Linked DNA regions of Homo sapiens: all the other regions are linked to region 2. Evidence: promoter capture Hi-C in 16 types of primary human blood cells and fetal thymus (Javierre and others, 2016). All regions are on one chromosome and are shown on one strand. The core of a region is centred on a gene start or on the middle of the fragment in contact, and the rest is flanking DNA. Distances in the headings are between cores, read along the strand shown.

Region 1 (4,747 bases), core at 1,721-4,220, 96 kb before region 2:
AATATTTAAACACCTTTCCTTCTGTGGTTTTCTTTGGACGGCAAGGGGACATGTGATTGTCACTTCGTTAAAAGCCTTGTGTTCCAGGAACCAAGTTCAGGCACCATTGCATAGTTTTGTAAATAAGAATGGGCCCCCTGGGGACACAACTCAAAGGAGAAAATAAAACTTATAATCTGAAAGGAACTCATCTGTAATGGGTTTGGATGCCAGAGTTTCAAAGGACAACCCGTACCTTGAGGAAAACAGGTGCCTGCTTCTGGGGGAGCACTGGAACCCAGTATGGGCTCTGCAGTGGGTCTGCTTCAAGTTTCTATCTTAAGAACCATTCCTAGGTTCTGGCCTCTCAACCCTAAGCCTCAGGACAGCAGTGTTCATCAGTAAGACCCAGAACCTGGCACTGAATAGCTCCCCATAGATATTCACAGAATGAATAAATGAAAACATTGAAGGTCTTAGTAAAATGGTAATTATCTCATGGAAGTGGTACATGAAGGGCAGTCATGCTCCCCAACAAGAATTTGGACTTGCCCTCTGGGAATAAAAAGGAACATCGGTATGTAAGTCATCATAAGCAAGGATAGACTCTAACCAAACTTATGACCCAAGGAGACAAGTCTTTTACATTCAACATGCCAATTCCAGTCAAATGACTGGTTCCCTGGAGTGCTGCATAGAGAAGGATTTTTGAGACTTCTTCTGAGTCTAGCAGGAAAGAGAGCTACAATTGATTAGTAATGTCTGCCATGCACACAAGGGGTGAATGATGGCAAGGATAGCATATAAGTGCATCCCTTTGTTGACACATCCAGAAAACTGTGACTCGGAAGTGGGATTGACTGACCCCAGGAGTATGGAAAAGGGGAGCCACTGAGGCAGATGCCACTGAGCCACTGCCCAAGGAGCCCTAGAGCAAGCATTTTTCTGGCAAGGAAGAGCACAAAGCAGAAACCGTGTCATTAAGCACAGTACTCACACCCTGGTACTGATTCCAAGTTTACCAAGCAATGTCTTCTGTGCCTTCCCCTGTAGCGTGCCTTTAGGGAAAGAATGTTCTGGGTCAAGACACACCTAAAGTCCAGTGGCCAGTTTGCTTGACATTAATAGTTCTTGATGGAGATTAAGAAGAGTCTTTCTGGTTTCACTGATGACTCTCTGTGGACTTGGTTCATGTGCCCATCCAAGAAAGATGAATCTGCTCTCAGGTACCCTTGGCCAGTCAGGTCTCTGAGACTACAAGGCTGCGGACTAAATCTTGGACTCCGGTAAATTCACCAAAATAAGGTCCCCCTGCCAAGTCTTTTCCTGGGCTTGCAATTGCATTCCCTTCTGCATGCCATGTTCATTTGACAACCACCATATGCTAAGAGGAGTATGGAGTGGAATTAAATTGCCAGTGTATTTTTAGAAACCTGGCTAGCAGGTCAGCTGAGTTCTGAGGTTGGGACACAGGACTAGTCACTTTAATAAGGACAGAAAGGAAGTAAAGTGTCTAAAACCTGCAGATTGGCAGGCCCAGATGGAGCCTGTAAGTTCTTCAAGGGCAGAGACTATGTCTTTGTTATGTATATATCTATTCTCAGTGCACAGCACCACTCTGAGACATGGCAAGTGCTCCATAAATATGTGTTGAGTGAATGAGTTTATTGAATGGGCAGCAGAAGTTTCCAGAAGTGTTGTGGAAGGAGCTGTTTAGGTAAGAGAATGAGCTGAAAGGGCCAACAGGAAATACTAACAATAAACCACAGGCTTTACAATGTCGCCTTGAGCTTACCCACCCAGTTTAGGAAGTTTTCACCTTCAAGCCAGCAATATCGCTGTTTATACAATAACCTTGAGCCTTTGCGTATGCTGTTCCCTCTGCTTGGAGTATTCTTGCTACCCTGGCTATGCACATGAATTTGTGCACACGTGCACGTGCATGGACATACGCGCACACACATTCATATAACTGCTTCTTTAGTTGTCACTTCTTCAGAGACATCTATTCCGATTTCTCTAAGTTCTCCTCCTCCCACTGCCTTGTATCCTCTAGCTCAATCCCTTTTATATGTTCTTCATAACATTTGTCACCATCTGTAATTATCTTAAGTGTTTTTCACTTATTTCCTGTTTGCTTCCTCCCCTAGGGCATAAGCTCCATGATTCAAGGACTGTATTCTCTTATTCACTGTTGTATTTCCAAGCGCTGAGCTCGGTATCTGGTCATAGTAGATACTCAAAAAGTATCTATTGAATAAATTATGAATGAACAGTGCTTCTACACTTATTGCCTCACTGGTACAGCACACTAGCCTTTTATGAGTTAGACTTCAGTAAAAGGAGACTGAAGACAGCACTCCAGTTATTTTAATCAGAAAAATTTTAATCCAAAAAATTCATCTTTTTTTATTTATTTATTTTTATTTTTATTTTTTTTTTTGAGATGGAGTCTCGCTCTATCACCCAGGCTGGAGTGCAGTGGTGCGATCTCGGCTCACTGCAAGCTCCGCCTCCCGGGTTCACGCCATTCTCCTGCCTCAGCCTCCTGAGCAGCTGGGACCACAGGCACCTGCCACCACGCCTGGCTAATTTTTTGTATTTTTAGTAGAGACAGGGTTTCACCGTGTTAGCCAGGATGGTCTCAATCTCCTGACCTCATGATCTGCCTGCCCCAGCCTCCCAAAGTGCTGGGATTAAAGGCGTGAGCCACCGCACCCGGCCCAAAAAAATTCATCTCTTACAAAATTGTTGGAGGGCTAGAAGAATGGGTTCTAAACTGGGCCTCCAGGAATGACCACCTAAACAACACTGTTGAACTGGCCCCCACTTTGCCAGAATCAGTTACAAGGGTCCACGGAGAGGCCACTCCTGGAACTATTGAATTCAAGGACATACCACTGAGCTTGCAAAACAAGGATCAGGAAGTCATTGGTGCTGCAGATCCCTCTCAGCACCCTCAGAACTAGGTAGTAAGCACTGGAACATTGCTGCAGGGGGAAAATGCCTCTGTGACCAGGCTCACCAGCCCAAACAGTCAAACCAGCAAAGCAACAAGAAGATGGCTTCCACCTAAAGTCCATCTTTCATATGATGAGTTATTGGAACTAGGAGAAATCTAAATCATGGTTGTAACCCTAGCTGCAAGAGAGTCTTGGAAATGCAATGCCTACCTTTCCAGTTTCTGTTGTTCTGGAAGGTGCCCTATGGAGGTTGGAAAGGATGATGATGAGTTCCGATACCAAACCACCACAAGCCCTGTGAAGTAGGCAGGGAAAACTCCATCATTGCCTGGTGGCGCAGTGGCTCACACCTGTAATCCAAGCACTTTGGGAGGCCAATATGGGAGGATTGCTTGAGCCCAGGAGTTCAAGACCAGCCTGGGCAACATACAGATACCTTATCTCTACAAAAAAAATAAAAATTTGCTGGGCATGGTAGCTCATGCCTGTAGTCCCAGTGACTCAGGAGACTGAGGTAGGAGGATCTGCTTGAGCCTGGGAAGTCAAGGCTGCAATAAGCCGTGATCACGCCACTGCACTCTAGTGTAAACAACAGAGGGAGATGCTCTCTCAAAAAAAAATGCATCATTGCCACTTTTACAGATGAAAAACCTGAGTCTTCAGAAAATTAAATAATAATCCCTATTGATTGGTTCTCAAAATTATTTGTGGAATGAGTGAGGATGAATTATTTTCCCAGAGTCAAAAAGCAAACTCCTGTTGCCCTTAAAGACCCAAGTGAAAGGGATCTCCTCTGTGATGCCTGACCTAACCACCCAAGCTAAAGTCAATGCTATTGTTTATGCATACACACCTACACACACACACCGTGACTTTGATATGTTCATCATGGTACCTACCACAATGTATTTTAAGGACCAATTTGTGTTTCTGTTTCCCTAAGCAGACAATGAAGTCCTCAAGGGCAAAGATGGCATCTTAGTCTTCTCACCAACCTGGGTATCCACTGTGTGTAGCTCATAGGAGGTCAGATTAATACTTGGTTTATTGACTTAGTAAGTGTAGTGCTCTGGGCTCTTGACATTAGGCCAGTCCTCTTTCCACCATGCCACACCGCTTCTACCCAACTTTTTCTGAAATCTACTGGCTTTGGTATTCATTTGCTCACTCATGCAAGAAATATCTATTAAGCACCCATAATGAATCAGTGTTTGACACAGGAGATGTAACAGTGAGTGAAAAGAGACAGTCTCATGGCCCATAAAGACTACAGTCTAGTGGGGGAGATGGATATGAATTAGCTGATCACACAAATAAATGTGTAACTACAGCAATGATGATGACACCATAAAAGGAGGTGCATCCTGGTCTGGGAGCGTGTAATAGGTTTGAACTGTACAAGGACATCAGAAAAGATTTGTATAAAGCAGTGATGATAGCTGACATCTAAATGATAATAGGAGTTATGCAACGCAAAGAGGTCAGAAGGTCAATTCCGTGAGAAAGGAAATGGTCATGCAGAGGCCCTGTGGTAAGAGGAAGGTGAAGAAACAGAAGAACAAGGATGGTATTTTTTCCATGAGAAAGGAAATGGTCATGCAGAGGCCCTGTAGTAGGAGGAAGGTGAAGAAACAAAAGAACGAGGATGGAATTAAGTGGGGCTGGAAAATGAGGAAAGGGTAAGACCCTGCAGAACCTATAGGTCAAATGTAGGATGTCTTTCTTTATTCACCTGGGGGAGAGGATGACATGCTTATAGGTGTGCCTTAGAAAACTTCAATGTGTGGCCAGGCATGGTGTCTCAT
Region 2 (4,560 bases), core at 1,223-3,722:
TTGCACTCCAACCTGGGCAACAAGAGCAAAACTGCGTCTCAAAAAAAGAAAAGAGAGAGAGAGTGAAAAAGGGCTGAGCGCGGCCGCTTGAGGCCGAGGCGGGTGGATCACTTGAGGTCAGGAGTTTGAGACCAGCCTGACTAACATGGTGAAACCCCCGACTCTACTAAAAATACAAAAGGGAGTGGTGGCGTGCGCCTGTAGTTCCAGCTACTCGGGAGGCTAAGGCAGAGGAATCGCCCGAACCCAGAAGGCGGAGGTTGCAGTGAGCCGAGAGCGTGCCACTGCACTCCTGCCTGGGCGACAGAGCAAGACTCCGTCTCAAATAATAATAATAATAATGAGAGCAAAAAAGAAAGAAAAGCCAAAACAAGCCTCAGAAACTGCCATTTGTTTAATATCTGCATTAAAAAAATTATCCCTTCCATCAGATGAAAAATACCTTATAATTTATGATGGATAATACATTAATTCGTAGCACACTAGAAACAAGGGATTCCTTAAGACACATATGTGGGGTTTTTGTTGTTGTTGTTGTTGTTGTTGTTATTTTTATTATCTTTAAGGATAATTTGTTGGGTAGGGGTCAGTGAGTTGGGAGTCCTGATTGGTTGGGTCGGAGACGAGACACGTAAGTTTAAGTTCTATAATGAAACGCTTTCAATCATGTCAGTTTATCTGTGCCTATAAACACACTCCTTTAGAGAAAATCAAAAGTTTATAGCCAGGCGCGGTGGCTCACGCCTGTAATCCCAGCACTTTGGGAGGCCGAGGTGGGTGGATCACCTTAGGTCAGGAGTTCGAGACCAGCCTGACCAACGTGGTGAATTACCATCTCTACTAGAAACACAAATTGAACGGGCGTGTTTGTGGGCACCTGTAATCCCAGCTACTCGGGAGGCTGAGACAGGAGAATCGCTTGAACCCGGGGGACGGAGGTGGTAGTGAGCCAAGATCGCACCACTGCACTCCAGCCTGGGCAACAAGAGTGAAACTCCGTCTCAAAAAAAAAAGTTTACATATAAGGCTCTCTTAGTATCCCTGGGAAGAGGGTTCATCCTGTCTATGAACGGGTTTAGGATGACACAAATTATCAAATTATCCGATTAGTGCACTTTCCTAACCCATATGTTTAATCAGTGGCACATCCTGGTTTTGAATTATTTAAACGCATTATTATTTAGCCATTCACATACTTACGTTTGTCACTTCCAGTTAAACTGTAGCCACCTACAGAGAGCGAAACAGAAGTCGGCTGATAAAATTTTGATAAAATTTCATTTGCCCGCAGCTGGTCATTTCATTGGGCGCTTTTGTGTTACAAAAGTGTGTGAATTGGCCGGGCGCGGTGGCTCACGCCTGTAAATCCCAGCACTTTGGGAGGCCGAGGCAGGTGGATCACTAAAGGTCACGAGTTCGAGACCAGTCTGGCCAACATGGTGAACCCTCCCCCCCCCCACACACACACACACACCCCGCGTCTCTAGTAAAATACAAAAATTAGCCAGGCATGGTGGTGCGCGCCTGTAATCCCAGCCACTCGAGAGGCTGAGGCGGGAGAATCACTTGAGCCTTGGAGGTGGAGGTTGTAGTGAGCCCAGATCGCAACACTGCACTCCAGCCTAGGGGACAGAGCGAGACTTCCTCTCAAAAAAAAAAGACTTATGAATTGTTTGAAGAGGCACGAGACCGTGGCAACCCTAACTGTCCCCGACATCTGGCAGCCATATGCTATCCTTGAACTTGAACTTCAGAGTGAAAGTATAAATTTGTAAGGGGAAGGCTCAGCCGCAAGTCACATACCAGTGGTCAGTTAAAAAAAAAAAACTCAGGACGGCAACCTAAATCATTTAGAACGCGTCAAGAGCCTCGGAAAAACTATTTTCACACACTTCTCTAGCACTAACATGGGAAGCGCGTTTCCTTCACATATTCCACACCTTTTATTCTTCCCACCAACATCAAGAATACAAAGCGCCCAGAGAGGACAATAAGCCTAAGCAGCGGCTCCAAGAGACCGGACTTTCGTACTTCCCGGGGGCAGGCGGAAGGTTACGGAGCGCTGGAAGGATCTTACTGCTCCTTGAAGGGCTGTCTGAGAAAATACACAGCCTAACGACTCCTCGTTAGTATAGTGGTTAGTATCCCCGCCTGTCACGCGGGAGACCGGGGTTCAATTCCCCGACGGGGAGGTGTGTAGCTGCACTTTTTTGGCGACAGTTATTATTTTCTGTATCATTCAATGACAGGACACTGCTGTTAAACATAATATGCTAAACCAGCTCCCTTAAGTGCACAACCCTGTCTTCAAAATGGTGACTTTTAACCTTAATGCCCACCATGAAGTGAAAGCCTCCCCTGAGAGAAAATGCCTTACATTGTTTGCAGGAAGGGAGGAAAGGGAAAAAGAAAACGCTCTGAAGGCCTCTGCCCTTGCCTCCAGCCGCCATCTTGCGAAGGCCTGCGCCGGCTTAGTGGCGCCCCGCCAGATTACAACTCGAGGTCGCGAACTCAGCGCGCGGAACCTGTTGGGGGAGGGGAGAGAGGGCGGAGTCTCGCGACTAACGGGGCGGGGGCAGGGCGGGTAAGAACGGAAATCATTTGGTAAAGAAAAGGAAGGGCCAATTTCCTTTGATCCTGGAGACCCGACTAAACGGGAAGCCCCGTTCTCCCGCTTCCGCTGGTTACGTCCCAGCCTTGGTTAGAGGACTAGCAGTCAGGAAAGTTTGGACGCTGAAGGAATCGGTCTCCTGGTCCGACAGATACTGGGTGGAGGGGCAGAGAGTAAATGGAAGAGAAAGACTGGTACCCCTGGAAGAAACGCCATTTACTGGTGTCCTAAGAAACTGCGCGAGCCACAGCCCAGCAGGACCTCGTGGCGCAACGGTAGCGCGTCTGACTCCAGATCAGAAGGCTGCGTGTTCGAATCACGTCGGGGTCAAACTTTTTTTTTTTCCTCCTGTATTTTAAACTACCGACTACTAGAAGCCGAGGTGTATTCCTGCCGCCAATTTTCTTGAATGTTAGAATTAAGTTTTCCTCTTTCAGGTATTATGATACTAATCCTTGGTTTGCAGGAAGATATGATTTACTCTATATCGAAGAGCCTCAAGGCTGATGTTTTTATCATTTGGCCTTTTAAAGTGAGTTTTTTTGTCACTTAACATGCATAATGTGTAAAGAGGTGGACTATTACTGCTGTGCATTAGTGGGTGTATCAGTCCACTAGTCTATCACAGGAAGTGTACAATATACTGTACAAGCTGTTTTTTCCAAACAGTTTTAGGCTGTTTGCCTTTTGAAAGAGAGTACAATAGTGTACAATTTCTAATTTTGAATATTATGCTAATCAAGTGTCTTAGCCCTTACCATGTGCCAACACTGTGAACAACCTCACAATGTGTGACTATTATCCCACTTTTACAAATGTGGCTGTGGCTCACAGGGTTAGTGACCTGCCAAGGGTCACCCAAGATTCTGAACCAGGTGAGGGACTCTGGATCCCTCTTTATAAATACTTTATAATAAAGGTGGAAACAAACAGTTGAAAGAATGTGTGACTGCCAGGCTCAGTGGCTTACACCTGTAATCCTAGCACTTTGGAAGGCCAAAGTGGGTGGATCACGAGGTCAGGAGTTCAAGACCAGCCTGACCAACATGGTGAAACCCCATTTCTACTGAAAATACAAAAATTAGCTGGGCATGGTGGGGTGCACCTGTAATCCCAGCTACTCCGGAGGCTGAGGCAGAAGAATTGATTGAACCCGGGAGGCGGAGGTTGCAGTGAGCCTGGGTGACCAAGCAAGACTCCTTCTGGAGGTGGGTGGCGGGGAGGAATGTGGGAAAAGCTGTTGGACTGGGCGCCTTTTATGTTTTCACCGATTATGCGAGTGATGACTAGTCACCACTTTTGACTATTAATCTCTTTAATAGCAGGAAGCAAAGCTTGCTCGTTCACATTTGCAAGCTCCAGGACTCTTAGTACTAAATAGTGCCCTACACGTAAGTGTCAAATATTTGTTGAACAGAAAATGAATAGCAAGACTATGAGAAATTAATAGTTTTAGATTTTGATGATATGTTTTGTAAAATTCCTGAGGTTTTCTGCTTAGTATTTTGAAAATACCAAACACTAATTTCTTTTGATTCAACCTAATGTAGCAGTATACCTGGAAATTATATTTGCACATGGTGTGGTTTGTTCTTCCCTCTCCTGTTTGGATTAAAATTAGATCATCCATTTCAACGGGTATTTATGGACTGTCAACTCTGATGAGCCTGATACTGTGCTAAGTACTAAGGATGAGGATACACTGAGTAAAAATGGGTTTTTTTGAGCATCAGGAGACAGATATGTTAAGCCACCAAACGCCATAATGTGTTGGGGTAAGTTCATGTTACTTGGTAAGAACCATGAAAGTAACATGAACAGAGTGGTATGGGGGTGCTAAAACAGTGGACAGTAACTCCACATTGGGTTGTATGAGGCTATAACAAGGTGATACAACCTCTCCATCTACATCACAAAAATATGGTTTTGTCCAAATGAGTTAACATGAT
Region 3 (4,519 bases), core at 1,021-3,520, 120 kb before region 2:
CAACTTTAGCAAAAACGAATCTGATTCTCCTATATTTAATGTGACTATTTCCTCAGGTCAGACAAACATGAGATAGGCTACCCCTCACTGAATCATACCTTCCAACCCTGGCAACTGAGTCAACTTGATTCCCTTTAGGTTCAATTCCAGGCCCTGGTACTAGTTTTGTCCCCAATTAAGACAAATAGATTGACCTCTCTGTCAACAAGGAGACTTATGGAGTCCATCTTGATTAATTCTGTGTCCACCAGGGGCTGAACCCCATGGCTTACATGTTGAGTTTTTCCACTGTAAAGCCTCAATCTTCCCAGTCGCTGAAAGCAGAATTCTATGCCCCAGCCACCATGGCTACCTTTCCTGTCTCTCAACACCTGTCACCAGCTCCCTGACTACTTTTTCCTGGCTTTCCCAGTGCTAGTGCCAGTTTGATTGGAACTCAGCCTCTTCAAAGCTGTGGGAGTCTCATCCCAACAGTTTTCAGATCTTGCATCCCTAGTAGACCCTGGTTAAAAGGTTCAGGAATCCTACATGTTCTTCCCCTGGACGCAACTCCTTGAGAGGGATCTTCTAAACTCACATCCCTATGTGCCAACCCTGGATGTGCTACATTTGGCTCCCATCTCTGGCTGACCTAGCCTCCAGACAGTAAAGCATGGCATTTATGAGCCCAAAGGCTGCAGTCATACAAGGAGCATTTGAGTCCCAGGTCTGCCACCTACTAGCTGTATGATCTCAATCAATCACTTATGATGCTTTCTGAGCCAAACTATAAAATAGCGATAAAAACTCATACCTCTCAGAGTTGTTGTAAAGACTGAAAGAGGTAAATTAGATTTAGTTCCGTAGTTGTCACAGAGAAACTTTCAATAAGTCGATGTTATTCTTGGTGGAAGGCATCTTCCATCGTAGCATGTCCCCCCTCCCCTGCAACTTGGTGTCTAGCCATTCTCCACCTATTTAAACTAGACCTTAATGAAACAACTTAGAAATCGCTCAAAAGCCTAGATCATGACAATACTGATACAGGAGCTAAAAAGAAATTATTTAGGCAGATAGGGAGGGTAAGAGAGTTCTCAATAAGGTTTCCTTTTAAAAAAAACAAAAGCAGCCCCAAAATCATTTCTTTCCTAACAAAAAGCAGCCTGAAAAATCAAGCTGCAAGCATAGATAAGCAAGCTAAAAGCTTACATAGGTAAATACCAGCAGCTATGCCAATAGAAAAAGGCTACCTGGGGGCCAGGCATGTTCAACATGGCAGCTCCCTCTTCCCTTTTCTTTGTCAACCACATGTTCAGTAAGGAACAGACAACATGGAGCCGCCAGCTAGAGAACTCATCTGCACAATAAAAGACTAGGGTGGGGTGGCCAGCTTCTTCACAGGCTATGTAAATGGCACACCTGGTCCAACCATCTTTGGGCCCTGTGTTAATCAGACACCACCTCCTCAAGCTCATCTATAAAACCCTGTGTTTGATTGGAACTCAGCCTCTTCAAACCTGTGGGAGTCTCATCACAACAGTTTTCAGATCTTGGATCCCTAGTTAAAAGGTTCAGGAATCCTACATGTTCTTCCCCTGGACACAACTTCACCACAAAACCAGCAGACCCACTCAGGCACCCCTCTCTCTCTCTGCAGAGAGCTATTCTCTTTTCTCTTTCTTTCGCCTATTAAACCTCTGCTCTTAACCTCACTCCAGATGTGTCCGTGTCTTTGATTTCCTTGCCATAAGACAACAAGCCTCAGGTGTTACCCCAGATGAACAACGCTGCTTCAATACTTTTAGGTCTTTCAAATCAAAGTTATCCAAAATCAAATTTGGACATACACTGTTGTTTAATATTTATTTAGAACTTCATTCCCTCAACAAATATATATGAGCATCTACCGTATGCCAAGCACGGGGCCATGTGAGTATCAGATAGACATGGTACCTGCCCTCATGGAGGTTACAGTCCCCTGTTTCCCAAACCAGAATTAAAGAGATCCTTTTTTGTGGAAAATTTCTTACTAATCCAGATTTATGTCTAGCACAGTACTAGCTGGTAAAATCATTCTTTTGCTAGTAATTCACTATATTTTCCAATATTTTAAATGTATTTTTGTTCTTATTTTAAAACTTTATTAAAATTGAAAAATGTGGCCAGGCTCAGTGACTCACGCCTGTAATACCAGCACTTTGGGAGGCCCAGGCGGGCAGATCACCTGAGGTCAGGAGTTCAAGACCAGCCTGGACAACATGGTGAAACCCTGTCTCTACTAAAAATACAAAAATTAGCCGGGCGTGGTGGCAGGCACCTGTAATCCCAGCTACTCAGGAGGCTGAGGCAGGAGAATCATTTGAACCCAGGAGGCAGAGATTGCAGTGAGCCGAGGTCACGCCACTGCACTCCAGCCTGGGAGACAAACCGAGACTCTGTCTCAAGAAAAAAAAAAAAAAGAAAAAAAGGAAAAATGCTTGCTGACTCTCTGCACGAAGGTAACCTTCGGAAGCAGGGAGGTCTGGCCATCTTGTTTTACTACCCTCGTGTTTCTCCCAGGTAAACCTCAGGGAATGGCCACCACTGGCTCCTGATCTGTGGCCGAACATCTACTCTCCTCCCTCCAGGTCCTTTGCCATTTTTTCTCTTCCGGAACCTTCCAGTATTCCAAAATAAATACTGTATTTTTAAATCTGAAAATTTAGAACACATTCCAGTTACTTATCTGGATTTTTTTAAAACAAGAAAGGACTCCCAATTGCTGCAGTCAGTCTTTTAGAAAAGCAAAGAATTTTCTCTCTTGGGGAGTTGCTACATATGACGCTATTCTGTTTTGAAGGATCTTAGATAAGTCTTCAATTTTGTAAAGTTTTGAGATTAATAATACCTTAGGGGGAAAAACGCTGAAAGGTAGGCAGGTCTTGTCACAGTAAAAGAAAAGATTCTTTCCTGCTTTGCTGTGATTAGCTGCATAAGTTGTGGTGCGAGTTCCAGTGCTAAATGAATTAGTATGCATCCCACCCAGAGTACTGTTTGTTGAAGTAAAATGCTTACAATCTTTGCTTGGGGGAGGAAAAAAAAAGGGTATGTCATTGAGTGAATATGAATTAATCAGTACTTTATGGACAGAACCCATAATTTTAAAGCAGGGAAAAAAAGCCGAGGCATTTATCAGAGTTCCACTCAGCAATCTCCCTCTGTCATTGCTAATAAATCTTTTATGAAATGGAGTTTTGCAATCTTTGCAGGAACATTACCCACCCCCCACCTTTTCTTTGCAGGAAAAAAATAAGTTAGCATCCATCTCTAATATTTTACCCTCCCTTCCTTATTTGAGTGTCCTGTACTCAGAAAAAATCTCTGAAGCTCTTTATTTTTAAAGCTTTTTTCTCCCCCAATTTATAATGTTAAGACCTCTTTCATCAGAAGAAATAATTCATCTAAGTCTTCTCACAGGAGATTTAAGGAAAGAAGCTGAGTTTCAGGTGAGGAATGCAATATTTTTAATAAGTGTAATATCCCGGGCCTGCTAAACAATCAATATTTATAGATAGAGTGATAAAGTCCGTCGGGAAATAGAGTTTGGAGATGGGTAAGAGGATAATTAAAGGATAAAACATTCCAATTCAAATGTTTTATAATTTTCCTATCGCTACTCACAGAATCAAGATTCTGCCGAATTATAGACAGCCTGCCAATAACCTCATGATGCCCGGATTTAATTAGGATTTTATGCTCCCACCTGAAGGTTAGGTTCATTAGCTGTAAAATAAGCCACTGGATGTCTGGATTAAGAATTAAAGGGAACCCTAAGTGTAGAGTGGCACGTAGCCAGTTTCTAGCCACTTAAACCGTGCAAATGGACGTGTGATCATTTTCCCCGAGGTTGGTAACTTTTTATTTTTAGCCACAAATCCACAGGCCATTTCTCTTGGTTAGGGCTGGGACCTGATGGCGGTCGAAAACTTAAAAAGGTACACGACTGAGGAACAAGTTGTTAAGAGGCTATTATGAAGGGTTGACGGGAGGGGGTGGGAGGTGCATAATGATTTTGCCATTAAGCTTTCGTTCCATTTTACAGCTTGGATTTATTTATAACAACAGGTGGTGGTATTTGTGGGGAATTGCTTGTTTTTTCATTTGAGAAGGGCAGCTCCATACATCTGCTGGGAGGTGAAACAAAACCTTTTCCAAACACCCGTTTCCTCGCTTTGTGCATCACCATTAGGAAGGAAGAATTTGTAGCAAAAGGCCACCCTGCCATTATTTCTTCCTGATGACACTCATTTAGCAGCCATTAAAATGCAAATAGAACTATGATTTTTAGATCACAAAATTAACATTAACGGTTGGATGATTGATTAAAGGTCATGGCAACGGTATAACTTAATTTCTTAGATAATTGTGTTCGGTTTTCTGCAGACTGTTTGGGTTTCCGAATTAATTTTATCTGTTGTTGAACACTGACAGGTGCAGTAATTGGCACAATCTCCTTTGAGCTCATTTCTTCCCGTGCACCTTGCCCTCTTTTCTTCCCCGA

What was found. The method cuts DNA at HindIII sites, captures the fragments that hold promoters and counts their contacts. A CHiCAGO score of 5 or more calls a contact.
Region 1: a contact is called between a fragment that was not itself captured here and the fragment with the promoter of LINC02453 in region 2, in 3 of 17 cell types (monocytes, M0 macrophages and activated CD4 T cells). The highest score is 14.3, in monocytes.
Region 3: a contact is called between a fragment that was not itself captured here and the fragment with the promoter of LINC02453 in region 2, in 1 of 17 cell types (monocytes). The highest score is 5.1, in monocytes.

The regions. Positions count from the first base shown.
Region 1 is chr12:98,404,433-98,409,179 of GRCh38, forward strand. No RefSeq gene overlaps it. Among named protein-coding and RNA genes, the nearest start is that of TRD-GTC1-1, 97 kb to the right of the region's middle. The HindIII fragment of the contact is 7,332 bases long and covers 1-4,747 here.
Region 2 is chr12:98,501,383-98,505,942 of GRCh38, forward strand. It overlaps LINC02453 (long intergenic non-protein coding RNA 2453), which reads right to left and starts at 2,473. Exons shown (of 4, transcript NR_038383.1): 1 at 2,378-2,473; 2 at 1,201-1,230. It overlaps TRD-GTC1-1 (tRNA-Asp (anticodon GTC) 1-1), which reads left to right and starts at 2,121; the gene lies at 2,121-2,192. It overlaps TRW-CCA4-1 (tRNA-Trp (anticodon CCA) 4-1), which reads left to right and starts at 2,870; the gene lies at 2,870-2,941. RefSeq lists enhancers at 2,211-2,520, 2,531-2,830. The HindIII fragment of the contact is 12,452 bases long and covers 1-3,943 here.
Region 3 is chr12:98,384,489-98,389,007 of GRCh38, forward strand. No RefSeq gene overlaps it. Among named protein-coding and RNA genes, the nearest start is that of TRD-GTC1-1, 120 kb to the right of the region's middle. RefSeq lists an enhancer at 1,192-1,693. The HindIII fragment of the contact is 2,178 bases long and covers 1,182-3,359 here.